Linked DNA regions of Homo sapiens: all the other regions are linked to region 3. Evidence: promoter capture Hi-C in human tissues and cell types (Jung and others, 2019). All regions are on one chromosome and are shown on one strand. Each heading gives the region's core, a stretch centred on a gene start or on the middle of the fragment in contact. The rest is flanking DNA. Distances are from core to core; before and after follow the strand shown.

Evidence for each region. Contacts are between HindIII fragments. The study calls those that stand out against the background at their distance.
Region 1: a fragment that was not itself captured here is called in contact with the fragment with the promoter of IDH2 in region 3 in 1 of the 25 tissues and cell types used here (H1 embryonic stem cells).
Region 2: a fragment that was not itself captured here is called in contact with the fragment with the promoter of IDH2 in region 3 in 1 of the 25 tissues and cell types used here (bladder).
Region 4: a fragment that was not itself captured here is called in contact with the fragment with the promoter of IDH2 in region 3 in 2 of the 25 tissues and cell types used here (aorta and neural progenitor cells).
Region 5: a contact is called between a fragment that was not itself captured here and the fragment with the promoter of IDH2 in region 3, in 2 of the 25 tissues and cell types used here (mesendoderm cells and thymus).

The regions. Positions count from the first base shown.
Region 1 is chr15:90,381,528-90,384,264 of GRCh38, reverse strand. No RefSeq gene overlaps it. Among named protein-coding and RNA genes, the nearest start is that of IQGAP1, 5.3 kb to the left of the region's middle. The HindIII fragment of the contact is 4,681 bases long and covers 1-2,737 here.
Region 2 is chr15:90,599,833-90,602,532 of GRCh38, reverse strand. It overlaps CRTC3 (CREB regulated transcription coactivator 3), which reads right to left. Exons shown (of 15, transcript NM_022769.5): 4 at 148-209. LOC124903554 (a long non-coding RNA gene) reads right to left here. Exons shown (of 2, transcript XR_007064756.1): 2 at 1,728-2,225. Among named protein-coding and RNA genes, the nearest start is that of LINC01585, 59 kb to the left of the region's middle. The HindIII fragment of the contact is 8,040 bases long and covers 1-2,700 here.
Region 3 is chr15:90,101,147-90,103,846 of GRCh38, reverse strand. IDH2 (isocitrate dehydrogenase (NADP(+)) 2) reads left to right here and starts at 1,379. Exons shown (of 11, transcript NM_002168.4): 1 at 1,379-1,571. The coding sequence starts at 1,457. IDH2-DT (IDH2 divergent transcript) reads right to left here and starts at 1,715. Exons shown (of 3, transcript NR_149130.1): 1 at 1,469-1,715; 2 at 395-467. RefSeq lists silencers at 1,169-1,628, 1,949-2,018, 2,509-2,598, 2,659-2,700 and enhancers at 1,243-2,097, 2,098-2,700. The HindIII fragment of the contact is 13,716 bases long and covers 1-2,700 here.
Region 4 is chr15:90,459,070-90,461,769 of GRCh38, reverse strand. All of the region lies in intron 15 of IQGAP1 (IQ motif containing GTPase activating protein 1), which reads right to left. Among named protein-coding and RNA genes, the nearest start is that of CRTC3, 70 kb to the left of the region's middle. The HindIII fragment of the contact is 7,780 bases long and covers 1-2,700 here.
Region 5 is chr15:89,728,665-89,731,364 of GRCh38, reverse strand. WDR93 (WD repeat domain 93) reads right to left here. Exons shown (of 17, transcript NM_020212.2): 10 at 2,272-2,342; 11 at 1,596-1,682. Among named protein-coding and RNA genes, the nearest start is that of MESP1, 21 kb to the left of the region's middle. The HindIII fragment of the contact is 4,492 bases long and covers 1-2,700 here.

The DNA.
Region 1 (2,737 bases), core at 116-2,615, 280 kb before region 3:
GTAAGCTTTCAACTCAAAAACCTAAGTCTAAAACTAACTCAATTACACATTTAAAATGATTTACAAAAAAGCTGTCATTCAAGTCGGCCAAATTTTCTTAAACATTGCGAATACATAAAATGTGAAATATTTCTTCTTCTTCTTCTTTTTTTTTTTTTTTTTTTGAGACAGAGTTTCACTCTGTCACCCAGGCTGGAGTGCAGTGGCGTGATTTCGGCTCACTGCAACCTCAGCCTCCCAAGTTCAAGTGATTATCCTGCCTCAGCCTCCTGAGTAGCTGGGCTTACAGGCGCACACGACCACACCCGGCTAATTTTTGTATTTTTACTGGAGGTGAGGTTTTGCCATGTTGGCCAGGCTGGTCTCGAACTCTTGACCTCAAGTGATCTGCCCACCTTGGCCTCCCAATGTGCTGGGGTTATAGGCATGAGCCACCATGCCCAGCCGAAATATTTCTTCTTAACTCCAACATATTAATCCAATTGTTCATTCCATAAAGGCTTTCTTTACTTAATTACAAAGTTTGTCTGAGGTGAAAGCCACAGAGATGTTAAGTTACCAACTGCACTGGTACCTTACTATACTAAGTGTTGCACATTTATTTTCTCAGCTGATCCTTGTAATAATCCCATTATGTCCATTTTACACTTGGGAAAATGGAGAACTGGGTTACTTACCTGAAGCCACACAGCAAGAGGCAGAGCTGGAACTCAAACCCAGGCCTGTCTAATGACAAAGCCCAATTCCTAGTCAATAAACTCAAGATTCAGAGAAATAGACATTAAGATAATAACATGCTGGCCAGGCACAACGGCTCACACCTATACCCCCCAGCACTTTGGGAAGCAGAGGAGAGAGGATTGCTTGAGGCCAGGAGTTCAAGACCAGCCTGGGCAAAATGAAAAACCCCGTCTCTACAGAAAATACAAAAAATTAGCCCAGCGTGGTGGCATGCTACCCAAAAGGCTGAGGTGGGAGGATCGCTTGAGCCTGGGAGTTGAGGCTGCAGTGAGCTGTGATCCCGCCACTGTGCTCCTGCCCAGGTAGACAGAGTGAGACCCATCACCAAAAAAAAAAAAAATAGAAAAGATAACATGCCACATATCACTTCTTGCCTATCATATGTAGCAACATTTTGGTTTGTCTTTTTAATTGATATTATTGGCAAGGGGGTGAAAAAGCAACCACTCTTATGCAATGTTAGTAGGCAATAAATTAATATAGTCTTTCTAAAGACCAGCTTATCATTATGCATCTATTCTTCAACCAAAAAACTTCACTTCTTGGAATGTATCATAAGGATATCGTGCTTTTATTAAATGTGCAAAAGTTATCCATGAAGATGCTCCTTGGAAATTACTCAAATGTCCATCAGTAGGTGTTTAAATCAGTGATGGCAGCTATACACAATAGAATGCCATATAGCCATGAACAGTGATGATCTGTGGTCTGGTCAGGCTTGACTGGCTACAGGAAACAGACATGCACAGTTTTACTTCTAGAGGAAAAAAGGCTGGAAGGGAGGCCTTTCTTATACAGACCTATATGGACTGGAACTGCACCAAAAACAAAACTACACTAAACAAAAAAAAACAGGACTAATGAAAGCTTGAAGTCATGGTTTCATTCTCTGGGCATCTCTGCTTTTCCACAGGCTGGCTCTACTCTCCACTCTTTGCTAACCAGCTTACTCCATTTAATTTTTTCTGTTCCCTCACAACTCTTGTTTCTGCTTGCCTTGCCATGGCTTTGACTGAAGGTCATGGTATCCTTACATCATCAGCTCCATTGAGGATCATCTCAATTGCCTAACTCCATAACCCATAGAGTGGCATATGATTGACCCAGCTCAGCTTTCCACCCTGTGGGTAAATCTCTGACCACCCACAGGCAGGCTGCCCTTAGATTGGATGCTGATCCTTTACTTCAATCAACTATGATCAGGAGATACAGATAATTAAGCATAGAGAACTATGAGCTGGGCATAATTTCCTTCAGTGGGAGGCTGGGCAGGCAAAAAATGTACAGGCTGGCAGTACAATATTTTAATATTGTGGTTAAGTTAATATATCAAATTATGACTAATAAATATGATACCATTTTGTTTTAAATGTAGCTAGATAGATAGATACATTGATGGATATGTGCATATGAATAGATAAAGCCTTGAAGTATATACACCAATATATTAACAGTGGCTTCTCCAGGCAGTGCTATTACACTGGATTTGTGTGGGGTTTGCTTGCTTGCTTGTCTGTATTTAAAATGAGCTGCTGGAAATACTATTTTGTCAGCAAATATAAATATGAATAAAATTAGTAAATATGAAATGAATAAACGGCAAAATAATGAGGTAAATGGTCATTTTGGGAGTCAAAATTGGTTAATGACCACAAAGAATTTACAAGCCAGGAGGAGTCAAGCAATATTAACAGGATATCTTGAGATAAGCACCATAATAGAAGTTTCCCTTGCTTGGAATACCTTTTAGCCTATTATCTGCCTGGGAAACTCCTACTGAACCTCCCAGACCCAATTCAAATGTCACCTACTCCCCAGGCAAAATTAATCACTTCCTCATTTATTATATTTCCCAGTAGTACTTTTAGAAACCAGGTATCTTCAGAAATAAGTCTTACTGTCTAGTAAGTACAACATTTTCAAGAAATAAGTCCCAATTTTTTTTATATTTAAATGCCTCTGAAATCAGGATAGGTCTTACAATCAGTGTTAAGAG
Region 2 (2,700 bases), core at 171-2,670, 500 kb before region 3:
TCCTCCCACTGAAATTAAATGTTATAAGAGAAAACAGGATTCTATGCTTTATATTAGAAATTTCTAAACAACATTCAAAGTGGATAAAGTGAAATTATCTAAAAATAACACATGCCCATCATATCTTTTAAAGTATGTCTTGCTTACCTTGGCCAACTCTCATCCAGAGGCTGTGAGGAATAATTGGCTCCAAAAGCACTACCATCAAAGTAGAATTTTTAATAAAGGAAAAATAAAAATTAATGGAAAGATGAAGCAGAATTAACAAGGTGGACTCACAGAGAGTTAAACAACTGAGTTTTTGGTTCCTTATCCCTGTACCTGACAGCTCTTCCTTCATGCTTTCTCTTATCTCCCTCCTTGAGGACAAGTCTATTCTGCTGTCTTCTAACCGGTGTTTTCTTTGCATGATTTTTTGTGGGGTGTTTATTATTTTTTGCCTGTCCGGCAACTTTTGTTTTCAGGAACTGTCTCCACTCTTGCTCCAAACCTGGTAACACTGCCATTCCCTCTGTGCCACATGTGAGGGACCCAGGCCCAGGATTCTAGTCTAGGTACCTCACCCCCTGGAAACAGTGTTTGGCTCAGGGATCGGCTCACGACGCAAACAGAACCAAGGAGAGTGCTTTTGAGTGGAAAAAAAAGGAGTGCCCCAATAGGGCTGGTAAGCCCAAGGGCCGTCTGAACCTGGGGGTCTTCACCTTGGAGAAAGCCTGTCTGTTATGCCTGAAGTCATCTCAGAAGTGGTACCACAGAGGTAGGTCTCAATGACATTGTATGACCCCTTGGATCTAGCCCTTGGGCTTCCAGTGACATATGCCAATACATTTTCTTTTTTTAAGTTAAGGTGGGTTCCTGGTACTTATTTATTTTTTGAGACGGAGTTTCACTCTTTTTTTTGGCCCAGGCTGGAGTGCAATGGCGCAATCTCGGCTCACTGCAACCTCCACCTCCCAGGTTCAAGCAATTCTCCTGCCTCAGCCTCCCGAGTAGCTGGGATTACAGGCATGCGCCACCACACCCGGCTAATTTTGTATTTTTTTTAATTAGAGACAGGGTTTCTCCACGTTGGCCAGGCTGGTCTTGAACTCCTGACCTCAGGTGATCCACCCACCTCGGCCTCCCAAATTGCTGGGATTAGAGGTGTGAGCCACTGCGCCCGGCGGTTCCTGGTATTTATAACCAAAAAAGAGGCGCATTAGATGTGTGAAGAAAGGTAAACTTTCCAGTGTTGTTGGGGGCACTGTCTTATCAGTCTTGTGTTGTTCACTGGGTCTACCATGCCTTGGAGCATATTCTGGACGCACGGAGACACAAATGGGATGCTGCACTACACACCGAGCAGAGGGGCGCTGTTTTCATTCGTTTAGTTAATTGTTCCCACACAATAGCCTTCTGAAGACACTGTTAATCATATTATTCTGCTAAGAAATCTTCAATGATTTTGTTCAGCCTAAAAGGCAAAATCAAAACTTACTGGCTTAGTAATTGCGGTGATCCACAATTTGGGGACAATGGTCTCTTCTGCTCTTGTCTTCCCTCCAGCTTTCTGAGTTCCACAAACACAGCCTGTATTTTCCTGCCCCTCTGCCTTTGCTAAGGCCATTTCCCCTTTCTCACCTCCTATGTGGAAGGTTGCCTCCTTATCACTCACCCAAACCAAGCCCATTCCTTTTGTCTCCTGGATCACTGATTGGATTAAATATACATTCGGCAGTTACCAATAATACTTTTCATCCCAAACTTTTATTTCTTAAGGTGGAAATAATAAAGAAGATACAAACTACACATTAAGACAGAAATTTGAAAACAGATATCTAAGCACCTACTGTGTGCCAGGCCTGTGCTGAGTTCACACTTTATTTAACCTCAATCCTGAGAGGCAGATATTTTCCCCATTTTATAGCTGAAGAAACTGAGGCTCAGTTCTAGAAGAGCTGAGAAATCCAAGATCAGATAGCACGCCTGGTGGATCAGGGGTCAGACCCACAAATCACTGACACCAAAGCCTGAGAGCTCTCCGCTAAGCTATGCTGCCTCTCAGGAAACAGTGAACTATGCCAAATGCCCCCAGAAAATAGAAAATAGTACCTGGAGTGTTCTGGGAAGGATGGAGGCTATAAGAGAAGGTACCATCTGCTCGGGCTCAGGAGGAAACAGGAGCCTTGATGGAGTGGGGCCCTATCCTGCAGGCCTGGGCTGGGCAGCTCAAATAAATACAGAATCTGGAATTAGGAAAACGGAGGCTCTCATGAGTTCTTAGTGATTTGGTGGGAAATGTCTTCTTTGCCAGGAGAGGCATTAGGATTGCAAGTTTCATCTTCTATGTATTCGTTTTCTTTGACAAGTCTCATTATCTTATTTCTTAATTTGACCTTAAATCAATAAAATAAAACAGATAATTTCCAAAGAGAGACATTTCTTCAACATTCACTATTAGGCTTAAGGTACATGAAGTACAGATGAGGCAAGACCACAGTAGGAGGTAGGAGAGGAAAAGGTGATAAATAGTAAGGCCCGTGACAGACAAAACCTGTCAGTATTTCTGTTGGCAAAGCCATTAGGGAGGAAACACCGAGCCTCAGAACCTACGGTTATCTGCCTTTCTCTTTTCTGCAGATTTGATGAATCTCTGTTCAGAAACGCTTAATTTCAGGAAGTAGAAGTTTACCATTTTTCTCAGTACACTGCCATCTTTAA
Region 3 (2,700 bases), core at 130-2,629:
TAAGCTTAGGAGCTGGAGACCAGCCTGGGCAACATAGTGAGATCCCCCCATCTCTATTTTTAATTAAAACAAACAAACAAACCCATCTTTTATATGCAAACAGGCAAAAATGGAACTGTTTCTACTGTGGCTGTTTGACTACTCTAGGGTCTCAGAAAACAACACCCCAAAATGCAGGCCTCAGGAGCAGCTCTCTCTGACCCTCTCCCTCCCTCCTGTCTTTGGCCCCTCACTCTCCTCCGAGGCCAGCCATAGAAACTGGAATCCTTCTTCCTCAAGGCAGGTCATAGAAACCAGAGCCCTTCTCCCCCAAAGCCAGACATCGAACCCAAAAATATTACTCTTTCTCCCACACATTTCTGGGTAAAAACTGGCCATAAATTATCTGACCTACCTTGTTTGCTTGCAGGTCCTAAGACCCCTCCATCCCAGAGAGAGTCCTGCCCCGTACTCAGAAGGAAGGAATGCTGCAGAGAAAGGTCAAGAAGAATCTACACGGACAGGACTTGCTGGGTTTCCCCACTCAGGTTATTGGCCTTCTGGTCCAATCATATTTCTTTTTTCGTGGTTTTTTTTTTTTTTTTTTGAGACGGAGTCTCACTCTGTTGCCCAGGCTGGAGTGCAGTGGCATGATCTCAGCTCACTGCAATCTCTGCCTCTCAGGTTCAAGTGATTCTCCCGCCTCAGCCTCCTGAGTAGCTGGGATTACAGGCGCGCGCCACCATGCCCGATCAATTTTTGTATTTTTAGTAGAGACAGGGGTTTCATTATGTTAGCCAGCCTGGTCTCGAACTCCTGACTTCAAGTGATCCGCCTGCCTCGACCTCCCAAAAGTTCTAGGATTACAGACGTGAGCCACCGCGCCCGGCCCAAAGTGAGATTTCAACTCTCTCTACACCAGCTGGACCTGACAGCGGACTCGCGGAGGCGCAGACGCCGCCGGCGGTCTTAGCTCAAGAATGAAGCAGCCGCACTGGGCTAATGCGCCTTTGGGTTCAGCCCGGCAGGCGAGGGAAGCAAGAGTTCGCTCAGATTGGCTTTTGGGTTTAAGCTAAAGCGTCAGAAACTGACATCCAGGTTTACATGGGGCATCCTGGAGAGGGTCAGCCTCGCAAGCGGCTCTGCTAATCCCCCAGCCCTGATCCCGCTCGCGGGTCCCGGTGGGTCTCACGCCTGTAGCTCCTGCGGAGCTGGGCTTTCAGCGGCGCCCAGAGAAGCACCAGCCGGGCCTGGCCGCCGGGTCCCGGCTCCCGCGGGACGCTGGAGGCGTCGGCGGCCCTGGCCCCGCCTCCTCCCCGGCAAGGCCCAATGGGGCGGCAGGCCCGGCAGCCCCGCCCCGGTGGTGCCCGCGCGGCCAGCGCCCGCCAGGCCCAGCGTTAGCCCGCGGCCAGGCAGCCGGGAGGAGCGGCGCGCGCTCGGACCTCTCCCGCCCTGCTCGTTCGCTCTCCAGCTTGGGATGGCCGGCTACCTGCGGGTCGTGCGCTCGCTCTGCAGAGCCTCAGGCTCGCGGCCGGCCTGGGCGCCGGCGGCCCTGACAGCCCCCACCTCGCAAGAGCAGCCGCGGCGCCACTGTGAGTGCCGCGCGGAGGGTCCAGGCAGGCGCGCGCCCCCAGCTGCGACGTGGCGGCTTCCCAGGCTGGGGCCGGGAAGCACGTCCCGCCAGCCCGCAGCCCGGGGACGGCGGGGTCAGGCGCACAAAGGGCCGCGGGGCAGCTTCGCTCCGCGCTCCCCCGCCCGGCGCTTCCCGGCCGTGCCAGGCGCTGGGGTGGGGACTTGAGGGACGGTGGCAACTGGTGGCCCGGGCGACGGCCAGCTCTGCGCGGGCGGGGGCTCGGGGCTGCCGCGCGCCCCTAGGTATTTCGGGAGGGGGTCCTGAGAGTGTCCCGGACCCGAAGGGTGGCCTGCCCGCCCTGCGCCCCTGGAACGAGACGAGCACCCGTGGGGGGCTGGAGCACCCCGCGCGCTCCCCTGGCGAGAGGGAGGGTCGTGGCTCGGCCCCTGCTCAGACAAAGGCTGGGAGGCGGGAGACATGCACTTCCCCTTCCTTTTCAGCCAGGCGCGCGCTGATACCAGGCCCACGTCAGCTATTTTTGGAGCCTTTTACACGACAGCTGGAGGAGCGTCCTTTTTAATTTTCCCCTTTTGTTTGGCCGCCCCCACCCCCACCCCTTCGCCTTCATCGCTGCACTTGAGGCTCCATCCTGGGGCCTCTCCTTGACTTGACCTGCCTTGGCAGGCACATGCCCTCCCTGCCTGGCTCACTCGCCGCAGAGACCTGGCAGCCCGCGCAAAATGTCACTTTGCGGAATCGTTCCCACGGCTTCTGGGTACCCTTAGTTCCCTGCTTAGGAGGGAAGACAGTAGTCGGGTCGTAATAAGCAAGACTTAGCCCGAGCCTCCGTTGCCAACGCAGGCTGCCTTGCTTGGCGTGTGGGCATCGGCCTGCCCCCTCACCCTGGCTACCCAACACAGCTACAAAAGGCAGGGAACAATGTAGGTCCCTTGGCCCTGCCTAATGCCTGTTGCCATGGAAACCCCTATCCTAATCTGGCCAGGAGCCCCTTGCAGTGAGCCAGGAGAGTGAGGAAGAGGGGATGGGGCCCGCTGGCCCTGACCTGGCCAGAGGAGGTAATGGTTAACCGGATTGTGGGAGCAGCTGACTAGAGCCGGGGGGGTAGGGAGGCTTGGGCCCCAGTCCTA
Region 4 (2,700 bases), core at 143-2,642, 360 kb before region 3:
CTGCAACCTCCTACTCCCGGGTTCAAGCAATCCTCCTGCCTCAGCCTCCTGAGTAGCTGGGACTACAGGGGTGTACACCACACCTGTATTTTTAGTAGAGATGGAGTTTCGCCATGTCAGCCAGGCTGGTCTCAAACTCCTGACCTCAAGTGATCCGCCTGCCTTGACCTCCCAAAGTGCCGGGATTATAGGCGTAAGCCACCACACACGGCCTAAGTCATTCATATTCTTAATTATAAAATGAGTTCTTGAGGAGCCCTGATATCCATGTCTTGCATTCAGACTGTACTACTCACGACTAGTAATCCACTTTTATCAAGAGTCCCACAAACACTAAATTTAATGAAGAGAAACGTGACATTAGTGAAAATGGTAAAGACCTCTGAAAATCCTCTCCACCATGAAAAACAAACAAACAAAAAACATTGGTACACTGGCAAACAATCACCAGCATCAGTTTTTCTTTTTTTGAGACGGAGTTTCACTCTTGTCACCCAAGCTGGAGTGCAGTGGTGCTCATTGCAACCTCCACCTCCTGGGTTCAAGTGATTCTCCTGCCTCAGCCTCCTGGGTAGCTGCGATTACAGGTGCCTGCCACCACGCCTGGCTAATTTTTTGTATTTTTAGTAGAGATGGAGTTTCACCATGTTGGCCAGGCTGGTCTCGAACTCCTGACCACAGGTGATCTGCCCACCTGGGACTCCCAAAGTGCTGGGATTACAGGGATGAGGCACTGCGCCCAGCCCTTTTTTTTTTTTTTTTTTTTTTTTAAAGACAGGGTCTTGCTTTGTCACTCAGGCTGGAGTGCAGTGGTGCAATCTTGGCTCACCGCAACCTCAGCCCCCTAGGCCCAAGTGATCCTTCCATCTCAACCTCCCAAGTGCCTGGGACCACAGGTGCACACCACCGTGTCCAGCTAATATTTTTATTTTTCGTTAAGACAGGGTTTTACCATCTTGCCCAGCCTGGTCTCAAATTCCTGGGCTCAAACTATCCACCCGCCTTGGCATCCCAACGTGCTGGGATTACAAGCATGAGCCACTGCACCCGGCCAGTTTTTTCAATACGGTAGAAATTAACCAAAGGCTTGCAGAAATTGGAGAATGCATTCAAGAAAAACAGCTGAAACTCAGTAAGAACAGTGAGTTCTGTGGTGCTTTAAACTCCCCTATTCCAATCTGCCCCTCCTACCATCCCTTCAAAGCCCCATTCCCAAAGAACTGTCATTAGCTGACCTGTTCAGAGGTCACACTCGCATGGCTGTCTTTATTTGACCTGACCAAGAGCTCATCCACTGCAAACAGCCTTTTCTCCAAAAGCAATTGTCAAAAACATTAAGGATAACAGTTTAGGCAAACAAGAGACTAACTAAAAACCTTATAAGGAAAAGCTGGAGAATGAGATGTTCATGGAGAGCTCTGACAACTTGACATATTCCTGGATGGGATCTAGGAGGCCACAGTGCATGTGTGGGCTGTGCACATGCTCAGAAAAGATCTGATAAAGCTCTTGTTTAGCATATCATCATGAAATATAAAATGGGCAACCAGCGGCCCTCAGGGCTGCTCTGTCTATGGAGAAGCCATTCTTTTATTCCTTTACTTTCTTAATAAACTTGCTTCCACTTCACTCTATGGACTCTCTCTGAATTCTTTCTTGTGTGAGATCCAAGAACCATCTCTTGGGGTCTGCATCGGGACCCCTTTCCTACACAGTACTGCAGCTCAAAACAAAACAAAAAATATCCCCCACACAAAAAACTCCGGACCACGTGGCCTCACTGGTGACTTGTAACAAATGTTTAAAGAACTAGCTAATCCTTTACAAACTCTTTGAAAATATAAAAGGAACACTTCAAGTCATGAGGCCAGTATTACCCTGATACCAAAACCAAACACAAAGATATCAGAAGAAAATAAAACTACAGACCAAATTTAAATTAAGATCTTTTGCTCTCTAAATTTGTAACTCAGTGATAAATATTTTTAAAAACACTCCCAAATGGCTGATGGAGACTTAGATGCTCAGGTGATGCCAAAAACAAAAAACAAAACAAAACAAAACAAAAAACCCAAACCAAAAACAAACAAACAAAAAACAATTCCACCCAATGTGTAGTTCACCCAGCTGGGCCTGGCAATGTTAAGCAATTTTTCCTTTAACTCCCCCGACTTCCTCCGCCTTTGATGAAGTCTGAAAAGTTATTCCACAGCAAAGGAAATGCTTCAAACTCTATAGTCACATCCTCAAAAAGTTTTACTCCGATGACCCAAACAAAACGCACACACAGCCTTTTGAATTATTTACACTTTATCTATTCCTGACTTGATAGACATACTGTTTTTTTCCACTGTGGCTATCAGGAATAATGCTACTATGAAGATAAAGTTGTTAAAGTAATTGTAACATAAACTCATCTTTTAAAATGTTTGTCTTACCCGCTACCTAGTTTGCTGAGGAAATTGACAAGGTTTATGCCTCTTTTTATGCTGTTGCTGTCTAGGAAGTTGCCTTGTATGTAGTAGGCCCTCAAATAATTGTTGATTAAAGCATAATTAACATCTGTTTTCTAATTGTGATTGACCTCCTTTTCAGTGCTTACTAAGTAACAACAACTGGATAGAACCATAGCCTTCAGAAGACTCCTGAAGTGAGGCAGCAAGCGGAAGGGCTAAAAGAAATTTTTAATTCTGAGTAGCC
Region 5 (2,700 bases), core at 91-2,590, 370 kb after region 3:
TCAGACTGGTCTGCCTGTTCAGGGAATGGGAACCAGGAGCACCTGTCTGGACTCACCATCATCCTTCTCTTTATGAAGTGCTATTCTCCTTGCCTAGGATGATAAGATAATGTCACACTGTTTATTATTACTCTACAGCTAATGTTTAATGAGTATGTCCTAGGTGCTAGATACTGTGTTAGGCACTTTACACACATAATTTCATTGCATTCTCACAAGGGTTCTATAAAGTAGTCTTATTAGTATCCCCATTTTATAGATGAGGCAGAGAAGTGACTTGCTCAAGGCCATACAGTCAGTATAGAAGGAGATTAGAAGCCAGGTTGCCTGGGAAAGGGACGGAAGAAAAGAAACTCCTCCTTTGTGAATTTTTTAATGTTACTTTTGAAGTGTAATATAAAGTATAACAAGTGTACAGTTCAAGGAATTATCACAAAGCAAACTTGCTCATGTGACTGCTTCCATTAATTTTTTTTTTTTTGAGACAGGGCCTCACTGTCACCCAGGCTGGAGTGCAGTGGTGCAACCTTGGCTCACTGCAGCCTCAAACTCCTGGGCTCAAGTGATCCTCCTGGCCCAGCCTCCTGAGTAGTTGGGACTACAGGCTCATGCTGCCACGCTTGGCTATTTTTTGTAGAAACAGGGTCTCCTATGTTGCCCAGACTGGTTTCAAACTCCTGGGCTCAAGAGATCCACCTGCCTCTGCCTCCCAAAGTACTGGGATTACAGGCATGAGCCACCACACCTGGTCACCTCCATAAATTTGTAAAACAACAACAACCTATATTTCCTTAGTGCGTTTCAATTTCGAAGAGCTTCACATACAGAAACTCTCTGGATTTTGCTATTTTCAACAAACGCATGCACTAGACAACAATGGTGTAATTAATTAGCTCTATGTTCTGCATGAAAAGTGGGTTGGGGTGTGAAGCGACTGGCCTGAGACTACATGGTTTGCAGACAGCTGGGCTAGGATTAGCACTGACCTTCTGATTCCAAGCCTACTTTCTCAATCTCTCTCTTTTTTTTTTTTTTTTTTTTTGAGATAGTCTTGCTCTGTCACCCAGGCTGGAGTGCAGTGGTGTGATCTTGGCTCACTGCAACCTCTGCCTCCCAGGTTCATGTGATTCTCCTGCCTCAGACTCCCAAGTAGCTGAGATTACAGGCGCATGCCACCATATCCGGCTAATTTTTGTATTTTTAGTAGAGATGGGGTTTCACCATGTTGGCCAGGCTGGTCTTGAACTCCTGACCTCAGGTGATCCACTCGCCTCGGCCTCCCAAAGTGCTGGGATTATAGGCGTGAGCCATTGCGCCCAGCCAAGCTTACTCTCTTTTTACCTTAGCTGCTTAAGGAGCCCTGTGGACCTGACTGTAGACTTTGTCCCTATTGACCTGTTGTCTTTAAGGAACATGACATTTCAGAGACAGATTCTTGCGGTCACACTACACCCACCAAACCCCCTACTGCCTGCCTAGATCTGGTCCCTAAAGTGACACTTGATGTATGTCAGTCACATGCTCTTAGCTAAGCTGGAGAAGGACATGTCTGCAAGTCCTGAGCTTAGGCGACTCCCATCTCAGCAGTAAAGTACCAGCTTTATCCTTTAGAGTTCGGTTTAGTGAATACAGGAAGAAATTGTGACTTCTGGTCCAGTGTATACCAAGGACACAGGCCATTCCTGGTGGGGGGGCGGGGGAAAGACAGAAAATGGGTGTTACACAGGGGGAAATCTGGGTGGCCTTTGGTTTGCACAGAAGGTGTTTGCCCAAGAGAAGCTGGTTTGAAGTCTGAAGTGGTTTGTTTTAATGGGCAGCACCCAAGAGAAGGGTGAGTTTCCCAAGAGAGAGGGACTGGGCAGCCCCATGAGGGCTGTTCCTGGGGCCCACCCGCCTTCTTGCATAGGGAGGACAGTCTCAACTCCCCCTCGGCTGCTTTCACATCTAGAAAATTCACACCCTCAGTGTTTTAAGTAACATCTTCTACAAGACAAACTCATATCCAGAAGCAGCCCGGTGGATGTGGGCTCATGCCTTCTCCTATGGCAACCACTCCCTGAAGGCAGTGCCAGCCTTTGTGATCAGAGAACCTGTGCTCAGGGGCCACAGATGCAAGCAGAAACTGACAGGCTACAGCTGGCAACCAAACTCCCCTCTTCATTCCCTCCTACCATGCGAGGTTTGTTGGGGAACATCTCTGTGGGGGCTTGCTGAGGGGTTTCCCCAAGGTGACTCCTTGCTAGGACAACCACCCACTTCATGTTCATTTACCTGAGGGGCCCTTGACTTCCGGTGGCATTGCAAATAGGCAGCTAGGAAGAAGGAAATAGAAGGTGGCCGTACTGGGAAAGAAAGACACACGAGTCAGAGCCATGTAGACTCCCTGGCAAGGAGAGCTGCTGGCAGAGTCTTGGTCCTAAAACCAGAATAGATAGTTAGAATGGACCTTCCCAGGGGTAAGAAGGCCATGAAGCACATCACATTCTAGGTGCTGGTCCTGGTGGGATGCGCTGACCTTGGATGCTGGTGAGGGCAGGTTGGGTGGGGCTGGGAATCACTCCTAGGCCAGTGTGGTGTGCAGAGCTCTTGCCAGAGACAGCTGTCTTTTGGAGAGCCACTTCTGTTTTGGGGAAGATGTCCTTAAAGAGCAGACTCGGGTGATCTACATAGATGTTCTCTTATCCCAGGGGCAATACAGCC